2 separate regions of the Homo sapiens genome follow, and region 1 is linked to region 2. Evidence: promoter capture Hi-C in human tissues and cell types (Jung and others, 2019). All regions are on one chromosome and are shown on one strand. Each heading gives the region's core, a stretch centred on a gene start or on the middle of the fragment in contact. The rest is flanking DNA. Distances are from core to core; before and after follow the strand shown. Region 1 overlaps P4HA1 (prolyl 4-hydroxylase subunit alpha 1). Region 2 holds the start of SEC24C (SEC24 homolog C, COPII component).

The links. Contacts are between HindIII fragments. The study calls those that stand out against the background at their distance.
Region 1: a contact is called between a fragment that was not itself captured here and the fragment with the promoter of SEC24C in region 2, in 1 of the 25 tissues and cell types used here (dorsolateral prefrontal cortex).

Annotation. Positions count from the first base shown.
Region 1 is chr10:73,090,085-73,094,419 of GRCh38, reverse strand. The region is part of intron 1 of P4HA1 (prolyl 4-hydroxylase subunit alpha 1); the gene reads left to right. Among named protein-coding and RNA genes, the nearest start is that of P4HA1, 4.6 kb to the left of the region's middle. The HindIII fragment of the contact is 7,132 bases long and covers 1-4,335 here.
Region 2 is chr10:73,742,286-73,746,829 of GRCh38, reverse strand. It overlaps SEC24C (SEC24 homolog C, COPII component), which reads right to left and starts at 2,458. Exons shown (of 23, transcript NM_198597.3): 1 at 2,393-2,458; 2 at 1-25. LOC124902453 (a long non-coding RNA gene) reads left to right here and starts at 2,565. Exons shown (of 2, transcript XR_007062195.1): 1 at 2,565-2,613; 2 at 3,619-3,866. RefSeq lists enhancers at 1,943-2,509, 2,410-2,839, 2,510-3,077, 1,917-3,116. The HindIII fragment of the contact is 12,749 bases long and covers 1-4,544 here.

The DNA.
Region 1 (4,335 bases), core at 1,377-3,876, 650 kb after region 2:
TATGTCACTTCCTGCCCCCCCACTCAAGTCCATTCATGAACTTTATTATAAGAACCCCTAAAAAGTAAGAGATGTGAAGTTACTCTCTAAGGGTATCTAGGTGTCTTGAGGCAGTATTGAATGTTTCTGAAAATCGAGCTGGGCATGTAAGTCTGACTGGACTTGTATATGTGGGTGACCCTAATACATTTTTGCCAAAAGGGTTTTAACAAAAGTTAATAGGTTGTTAGAATTGTTGAAATGCTAAATTGTCTAGTCTGTGAAAGTATATCACATTGCATGCCCTCTCCTATATATGGTAACTTAACTTTGGTTTTCCATTCTGAAAGTGGAACAGGCTTGGAAGTAAACAAAAATAAATTGCATAGGCTCTTGGCATTAAACTTTATTGCTTTTCTTGCAGTGAGATCTTGAATCTTGTAATTAAACCATAATGTGTTGTGTGTGTATAAATATATGAATATATATAAAAAATCCAAATAAAATGAGTATGTGTGTGTGTGTGTGTGTGTATATATATATATATATATATATATATATATATATTTTTTTTTTTTTTTTTTTTTTTTTTTTTTTTGAGATGGAGTTTCACTCTGCCACCCAGGCTGGAGTGCAGTGGTGCAATCTCGGCCCACTGCAAGCTCCACCTCCCGGGTTCACGCCATTCTCCTGCCTAAGCCTCCCGAGTAGCTGGGACTACAGCCGCCCACCATCACGCCCAGCTAATTTTTTGTATTTTTAGTAGAGACGGGGTTACACCGTGTTAACCAGGATGGTCTCGATCTCTTTACCTCGTGATCTGCCCGCCTTGGCCTCCCAAAGTGCTGGGATTACAGGTGTGATCACGCCACCGTGCCCGGCCAAAGCTTTGTGTTTCTATTCAAGAAAATTTATTTGTATAAATTGAAGCTGTCCTGTCATTAGGACAGCTTCAGTTTCTCTAGTTGAATAAGTATTGTACCTAAAGAAAAGCTTTGGCAATTCAAAAGGACTCTCATTTAGGTTACTCCAGCAGTTTTTAAACTCGGTGTGGTGAAAAACATTCTTTTTCCTGGTCTTCCTTTGGATGATCAGTATGACTGTTAGTATATTTGATTTGACATTTGCTAAAAATACATTATAGAGATTCAGACTTCTTACCTAGTTGTCATCAGTGAATGAGTTCTATATTGGGCCTTTCTCTTCCTCATGTTTAGTGTTTCATAAAAATGTGTCCATATTACTCATTTCTTTCTTAAATAGTAATATTATGTGGAATTAGTACACTCAGCCTTACTCTCTCTTTTTTTTTTTTTTTTAAGAGATAGGATCTTGCTCTGTTGCCCAGGATGGAGTGCAGTGGTGTGACCATAGCTCACTGCAGCCTTGAACTCCTGGGCTCAAGCAATCCTTCTGCCTCAGCCTCCGGGTGTAGCTCGGGGTACAGATGCATGCCACCATGTCTAGCTAATTTTTTAATTTTTTGTAGAGATGGGATCTTGCTCTGTTGACCAGGCTAGTCTCGAACTCCTGGCCTCAAGTGATTCTCCCATCTGCCCCACAAAGTGTTGGGATTATAGGTGTGAGCCACCATGCCTGGTCATCCTTACTCTCTTGTTGGACACTTGAGCTGTTTCTCCATTATAAGTAGTGCAAAGAGAGGACTGTAATTTAGTGGTTTATTTTATCAACCTGTATAATTACAGTAAACTTTAACCAATTTTTTAATTTTTAAATTTATATTTAAATTTTTTTTTTTTTAGAGACAGGGCCTTACTATGTTGCCCAGGCATGGTGGCTCACACCTGTAATCACAGCACTTTGGAAGGCCGAGGCAGGAGGATCACTTGAGGCCAGGAGTTCAAGACCAGCCTGGTCAGCATAGTGAGACCCCATCTCTCTACAAAAAAAATTTTTTTTTAATTAAGGGGGCATGAGGTTGCATGCATCTGTAGTCTAACTACTTGGGAGGCTGAGGTGGGAGGGTCGCTTGAGCCCAAGAGTTGGAAGCTGCAGTGAGCTATGATAGCACCATTGCACTCTAGCCTGGGTGAGAGTGCAAGACCCTGTCTCTAAAAAAAAAAAAAAAAAAAAGAAAAGAAAAAAAAATTATTTACAATATGGCCAGTAGACTGTAGGAAAATCAAGAATGATGAGAAATGTTTCATAGGAGAAGTAGGACATAAAAATTACATGATATAGCACCATGTGGCTAACATTTTACTAGATATTAAATCTGTAGCACTGAATGGAAATGCATATCTAGATTCACATCCTCTACAACCATGAATTCATTTTTCCCTGTTCTAGTATACATGGTCTTATTTTGTCTCTCTTTACCTCAACTTGAGAAATTTGGATCTGGCATTAGAGTAAACAGATAATTGAAGACTAGAAAGAGGTAGACTGGGTGGAAATAAAAGTGGAATTTTGACAGAATAGCCTTGGGAGGGATGAAGCTGAGTATACCTGGGCCTCAGAGCAATAATCCATTTTTTAGGAGGAAAGGGACTGCTAAAGCCAGCTTTTGAGTATTCTACTCTGACCTGAGTGGCCTTGGTCTGAATAGCTCATGTTCAGAGATAAGAGTATATTTAACTTTTTTGTACTAAGAATAGTATTTGAGTAATGTTATAGGTACATATGAGAATTTGGCCTTCATCTCTGCCGAGTCAGTTAAACACAAGTTTCTCTAGATATTTCCATTACAAGAATCAAAGCTCTTTGATTTTTGGAACTTCAGTAAAACCCAAGAATGAATAGCCGAGAACTATCATACAAGTCATAAAATTAAAAGGCATTGAACAGTGTATGAAGCATCAGATATCCTGTTACATGTGTCTGCAACAATAAATTAAATATTGATTAACTGATTTTAAGTAGGCTCAAGACTTCTCTTACAGTTCTAATCTTATATTAACTAGATTTGCATATCTAATTTCTCCAAAAATATGATCAAGAAATGTTTATTTTAGTCTAGGCGTGGTGGCTCACATCTGTAATCCCAGTGCTTTGGGAGGCTGAGGTGGGAAGATCTCTGGAGCCCAGGAGTTCAAGGCTGCTGTGAGCTCTGATTGTTCCACTCCACTCCAGCCTGGGTGACAGAGCCAGACCCTGTCTCAAAAAAACAAAAAAAGTTGGTATTTCTAAAACCTACTGGTTGAATTTAGGACCTCAAAATGTTACTTGTGTGTGTGACCTTTGTTCTTGCCCTATGGTTCTGACAACCTTCCTCCTTTTTATTTATTTATTTATTTATTTATTTATTTTTTTGGTAAACTCAGGCAACATATTCATAGTCAAAGGTTACATGAAGACATTCTCAAATTTACATGATTTCAAAATTTAGTTACTTCTTTTTTTTTTTTTTTTTTTTTTTTGAGATGGACTCTCACTCTGTCACCCAGGCTGGAGTGCAGTGGCGCAATCTCGGTTCACGGCAACCTCTGCCTCCTGGGTTCAAGCAATTCTCTGCCTCAGCCTCCCGAGTAGCTGGGATTACAGGCACCCGCCACCACGCCCGACTACTTTTTTGTATTTTTAGTAGAGACAGGGTGTCACCATCTTGGCCGGGCGGGTCTCGAACTCCTGACCGGGGGTGATCCATCAGCCTCGGCCTCCCAAAGTGCTGGGATTACAGGCATGAGCCACCGCACCTGGCCTGCAGTTACTTCCTTTAACCTCAAAGATATTTTGAAAATAGACCTCAATTTACTATGCCTGAATTTAAAAAACCTTAATATTGTATTTGAAAATAGTGAATAGTGACCATTGCCACCAAGTAGAGTGATAGTAATAAGTAAAACACTAATCTTTGATATAAGGGTGATTACTAATAAATTGAATAAACTGATATATTTTAACGACTTTATTGAGCAAAATTGACAGGACAAATTGCATATATTTACAGTGTACAATTTGATAAATTTGACAAAAATATCTACTTAAAAAAATATCAGTACAATCAAGATAAGGAACATATCCATCACCTTCAAGAGTATCCTCAAGGTCAGGCACAGTGGCTTAGGCCTGTAATCCCAACCCTTTGGGTGGCCGAGGCAGGAGGACTGCTTGAGCCCAGGAGTTCCAGACCAGCCTGGGCGACATAGAAAGACTTCATCTCTACACAAAATAAAATAACATTAGCTGGGTGTGATGGTGCCTGCCTGTAATCCTAGCTACTTGGGAGGCCGAGGCAGGAGGATTGCTTGAGCTGGGGAGGTTGAGTCTTCAATGAACTGTGATTGTGCTACTGTACTCCAGCCTGGTGACCGAAATGAGTCTCTGTCTCAAAAAAGAGTATACTTGGCCAGGCGCAGTGGCTCACACCTGTAATCCCAACACTCTGGGGGGCCG
Region 2 (4,544 bases), core at 1,209-3,708:
GAAAGCATTCCCAATTTGATCTCACCTGTGAGAGAGAGGAGAAATTAGTCAAAATGAACTTTCTAAAGAGAGCAACTATTCAGGGCAGGAAGTAGAGATAAAAAGAAATTGACCTTATCAGACAGTGATCAGTTTAATAATCCTCACACTTCCACAGGATCTTAGTAATTTTCTGCCCCAGCCAGCATTCAGATTATCTCCTAAAAGCAAGGATTTTGTTATTCTGACCATCCACCCTTTGTCACTGTCTAAATAGTATAAATTTCAACTTCAGACAGATCCACTGAAATGGAGCAGCAGCCTCCATTCCCCAGTGGTATGATTTCTAGTGTCTAGTCACACAGTCTTGTGGCTGATGAACTACCTTGATGTTACAGGTGAAAGAAACAATGTTCCCACTTTCCATTCATTCACTCTAGCATCCATTCATTCAGCAAACATCGAGTACCCTCTAGTGTGCTGAACAATTGATTTAAAATCAATCAGGCTAAAAATCTAAAACAGATCTGCTAAAATCCTTCCCCCTCAATGACAAAATTTAGGCTGAGTTACAGAAATGACATTCTTTAGCTAAACTGCCATAATACAAATGATACTCCAACCCAAGTCTTTCCACCAAAAGAGTGTATGGACCTTAAAACTGAAGGTTTTTTTTTTTTTTTTTTTTTTTTGAGACGGAGTCTCACTCTGTTGCCAGGCTGGAGTGCAGTGGCGCGATCTCGGCTCACTGCAACCTTCACCTCCTGGGTTCAAACGATTCTCCTGCCTCAGCCTCCCGAGTAGCTGGGATTACAGGCGCGTGCCACCACACCCAGCTAGTTTTTGTATTTTTAGTAGAGACAGGTTTTCACCCTGTTAGCCAGGCTGGTCTCGATCTCCTGACCTCGTGATCCACCCACCTTGGCCTCCCAAAGTGCTGGGATCACAGGTGTGAGCCACCACGCCCGGCCAAAACCGAAGCATTAAAATCAATAAAAGTTGGCCAGGCACAGTGGCTCATGCCTGTAATCCCAGCACTTTGGAAGGCCAAGTCGGGCAGATCACTTGAGGTCAGGAGTTCATGACCAGCCTGGCCAACACGGTGAAACCCAGTCTCTACTAAAAATACAAAAACTAGCCGGGCATGGTGGCACACGCCTGTAATCCCAGCTACTTGGGAGGCTGAGGCAGGAGAAATCGCTTGAACCCGGGAGGCGGAGATTGCAATAAGCCGAGATCGTGCCACTGCACTCCAGCCTGAGCAATAGAGCAAGACGCCCTTTCAAAAAAATAAAAAATAAAGGACACCTGAAAACTCTAGCAAGGTAACAGATTAAAACCAAGTGCAGAACAGGCACCAAAACTTCTTCACATAATCTGAGGAAACAGTTCAAGAATCAGGGGCAAAGTTAGAGTTAGATTTCATGGAAAAAAATCATTCACCTCATCCCTCAAGCAGAAGACTATGAATATTCTAAATTCCAATGCACTTCTCCAACTCTCCTGTTTCTGCTCCCCTTACGATTGTTATGAATCTCAGCCACCATCAAAATTATTACAATCTTGCTCATCAACACAGGGATGAATTAGAGGGCCTTTTCTAAACAGGGTCCTTCCAAGAAAACTATCTCATCACATCTACTTTCAACAGCTGTATCATTCCAATTATCCTGTAGACAGAAGGGGCCCAGAAAGCAGGAGCACTCAGAGTTGCTGCAAAGGGAACAATGGACCTCTCCCCCTTTGCTAGAAGGGCCACCTTGACTATAGAAAAGGAGCTGATCCTGGTCTAAAACTCTTTAAACTCAAAGTTATCTCAATAGCTGTTCTTCCAAACCCTAAACCTTACAGAGGTAGGTCACTGACACTAAGTTTAAAATATGTCCTCTCCCTTTATGTTTCCAAAGCCGGGGGGAGGGGTAAAGAAAGGAGCTTCTTCTCCAGAAAATAATCCCCTCAAACACATTCAAGAGCTTGGAGTCAGACTGAAGTCTCGACTCCATTCTGGGTGGATAGTCGAGGGTGACAACCCAAGGGGGCGGGGCAAGCTTCCTAGAACTCTGAAAGTAGTCAAGCCATGGAGCCTCGGAGAGCCGAGGATCAAAACCGAGAAGCCAAGTCGGCTTCTAGGGCCACGTTAAGAGAGGGGGCTGCTCTGTTAAGCACAGAGACCAAACGTCTTGCACCTTTTAACAGGCTCGGGGCAGGAAGCAGGAGCCGGAATCTGGGCCGGGAGACGAAGGGATGGTCTAGGACCTGCTCCTGGATGGTGGATGCGTGAGGTGAGGGTCTCTACCCAGGCCCCGCCCCCAGGCTCCTCCCTTCTTTCTGAAACCGGACCCCAATCTGGCCAGTAATACCCTGACCTCTCCTTTGCTTTCCTACCCGCCAACCTCCCGATGCCACTCCTCACCCGGCTCCAGATCCAGGTTAGACTTCGTTCCTAACGTCAAGGCTCCCAGGCTCCACTTCCGGTTCCGAGGGGGCCGTCCCGTCACCCCCGGAAGTTCCTCCTCCACGCTTTAGGGCCGGGCCACTTCTTCTGCCACGTCTGCATTTCGGGGACCCGGATGCCGCGCATGCGCCTCTTTCATCTTCCCATCATGGCCGCCGCCTGTGCGCCTCTGCTGAGTCGTATGTATTTCCCTCCTGACATTTTTTTTCAGATGTTCCAGTCACTTTATGGCCTCACCAACAGAAATGAGATTAAAAAGAATTTGTCAAACTATCTTTAATAATGCCCCTTCACTCTGCCTGTGACGTATTAGTGACCTCTGAGCTAGAGTCTTGTAGTCACTTCCTGGTGACCCCTGACCCCGTTGATTTCCGTCCGCTAGGTTGCTCTCACCCATGGCGTTTGCTGGTTATGAGATTTGCGGAACGTGTGGTGGTGGTAAAGGGCACCAACTGTTGTCAACCTGCATGTGGGGGTCTGAGGTCTGGCTCTACAGCTTGTAAAATGGAAATAATAATGCCCAGAGGATGAAATTAGGCCACATAGGCCGCTTGGCATCATAGTAAGCACTCAGTAAAGGTCAATTGTTATTAACCATTTTTATACAGCGCCTTTGTTTAGGTGCAGAGCTTTATCAGAGCCAAAAGATCTCTGCGCTCTGTTGGAAAAGATAGTTCCTGCAGTAATTATTAGTACCCCATTTAATGGCTAAGTAATTATAGCTAACAGTGCTAGGATTTCTTTTTCATATATGACTTCATTTGAACTTTTCAGTACTATTTGTTGATTTCATAATTTTTCGAGCACTGCTGTTGAAACTGCCTTTGCAAAATTACAACTGAGGAAATTATGATAGTGGAAGAAATCAGACTTAACCGACTCCATCTTGCTTCTAACCTTTAAGCTGTCCTTATTCATTCCTGGGTGTAGGTGGAACTAACTTTGGGGAGGAATTCAGTTTATGGTTTGAAACAAAATTGATAATAGCCCCTTCCCGAAAAGACCCCCTTCTTGCCTGGGGACCAGTCTGTCTTTACAGGACTAACAAATTAGCTACAAGATTACAAATTACAGTTTAGGGGACATGCAGCCTCTCGCTCCAAGAGTCTGAACCTCCCCAAATTGCTTTTAGGAATAACATAACTATTGTAAAACCTAAGATTAGTGCTTGAGATGTTTTGCAGACCCTGCACTCATTGGATCAGCTGACTACCTAGACCAGTAACCTGGCTCAATCAGTTCTGCCATTCCACCCAGGAACAGAAAACAGCAAGAAAACCTCACTTTGACTCCCTGTGATTCCGTCTTCAACCTGACCAATCAGCACTCCCCGCTTCCCAAGCTCCTACTCGCCAAATTATCTTTAAGAACTCTGATCCTCAAATGCTCAGGGAGACTAATTTGTGTAATAATAAAACTCTGGTCTCCCACACAGCTGGCTCTGCGTGAATTACTCTTTCTCCATTGCAATTCCCTGGTCTTGATAAATCAGCTTTGTCAAGGCAGCAGGCAGGGTGAACCCACTGAGCGCTGACATTGTGTGCCAAGCCATGTTCTTGGGTCTGGAAATAGAGCAGTGAACAAAAGTGTTTGTTCTCATATTATTGACAGTAAATATCAGTTATTCTGAGGCACAGAGTGGTTTATTCACTGAAAAATTTGCACTTTAGGCTGTGCTGGAAACTATATATTAGGCATTGAGCATGCTTTACTAAACAAGCAGATTGTTCTTGTCCTCTGTTTTGTTTTGTGACAGTCTTGCTCTGTCTCCAGGCCGGAGTGCAGTGGCCCAATCTTGGCTCACTGCAACTTCCGCCTCCTGGTTTCAAGCGATTCTTATGCCTCAGACTCCCGAGTAGCTGGGATTACAGGCATGCGCCACCACCCCAGCTAATCTTTGTATGTTTGGTATAGACAGGGTTTCACTATATTGGCCAGGATGGTCTTGATCTCCTGACGTTGTGATCCGCCCCCCTTGGCCTCCCAAAGTGCTGGGATTACAGGTGTGAGCCACTGCGCCCAGCCTGTTTTGTTTTAGAGACGATTTTGCTATGTTGCTCAGGCTGGGCTCAAGTGGTCCTCCTACCTCAGTAGGAGTAGCTGGGTAGTT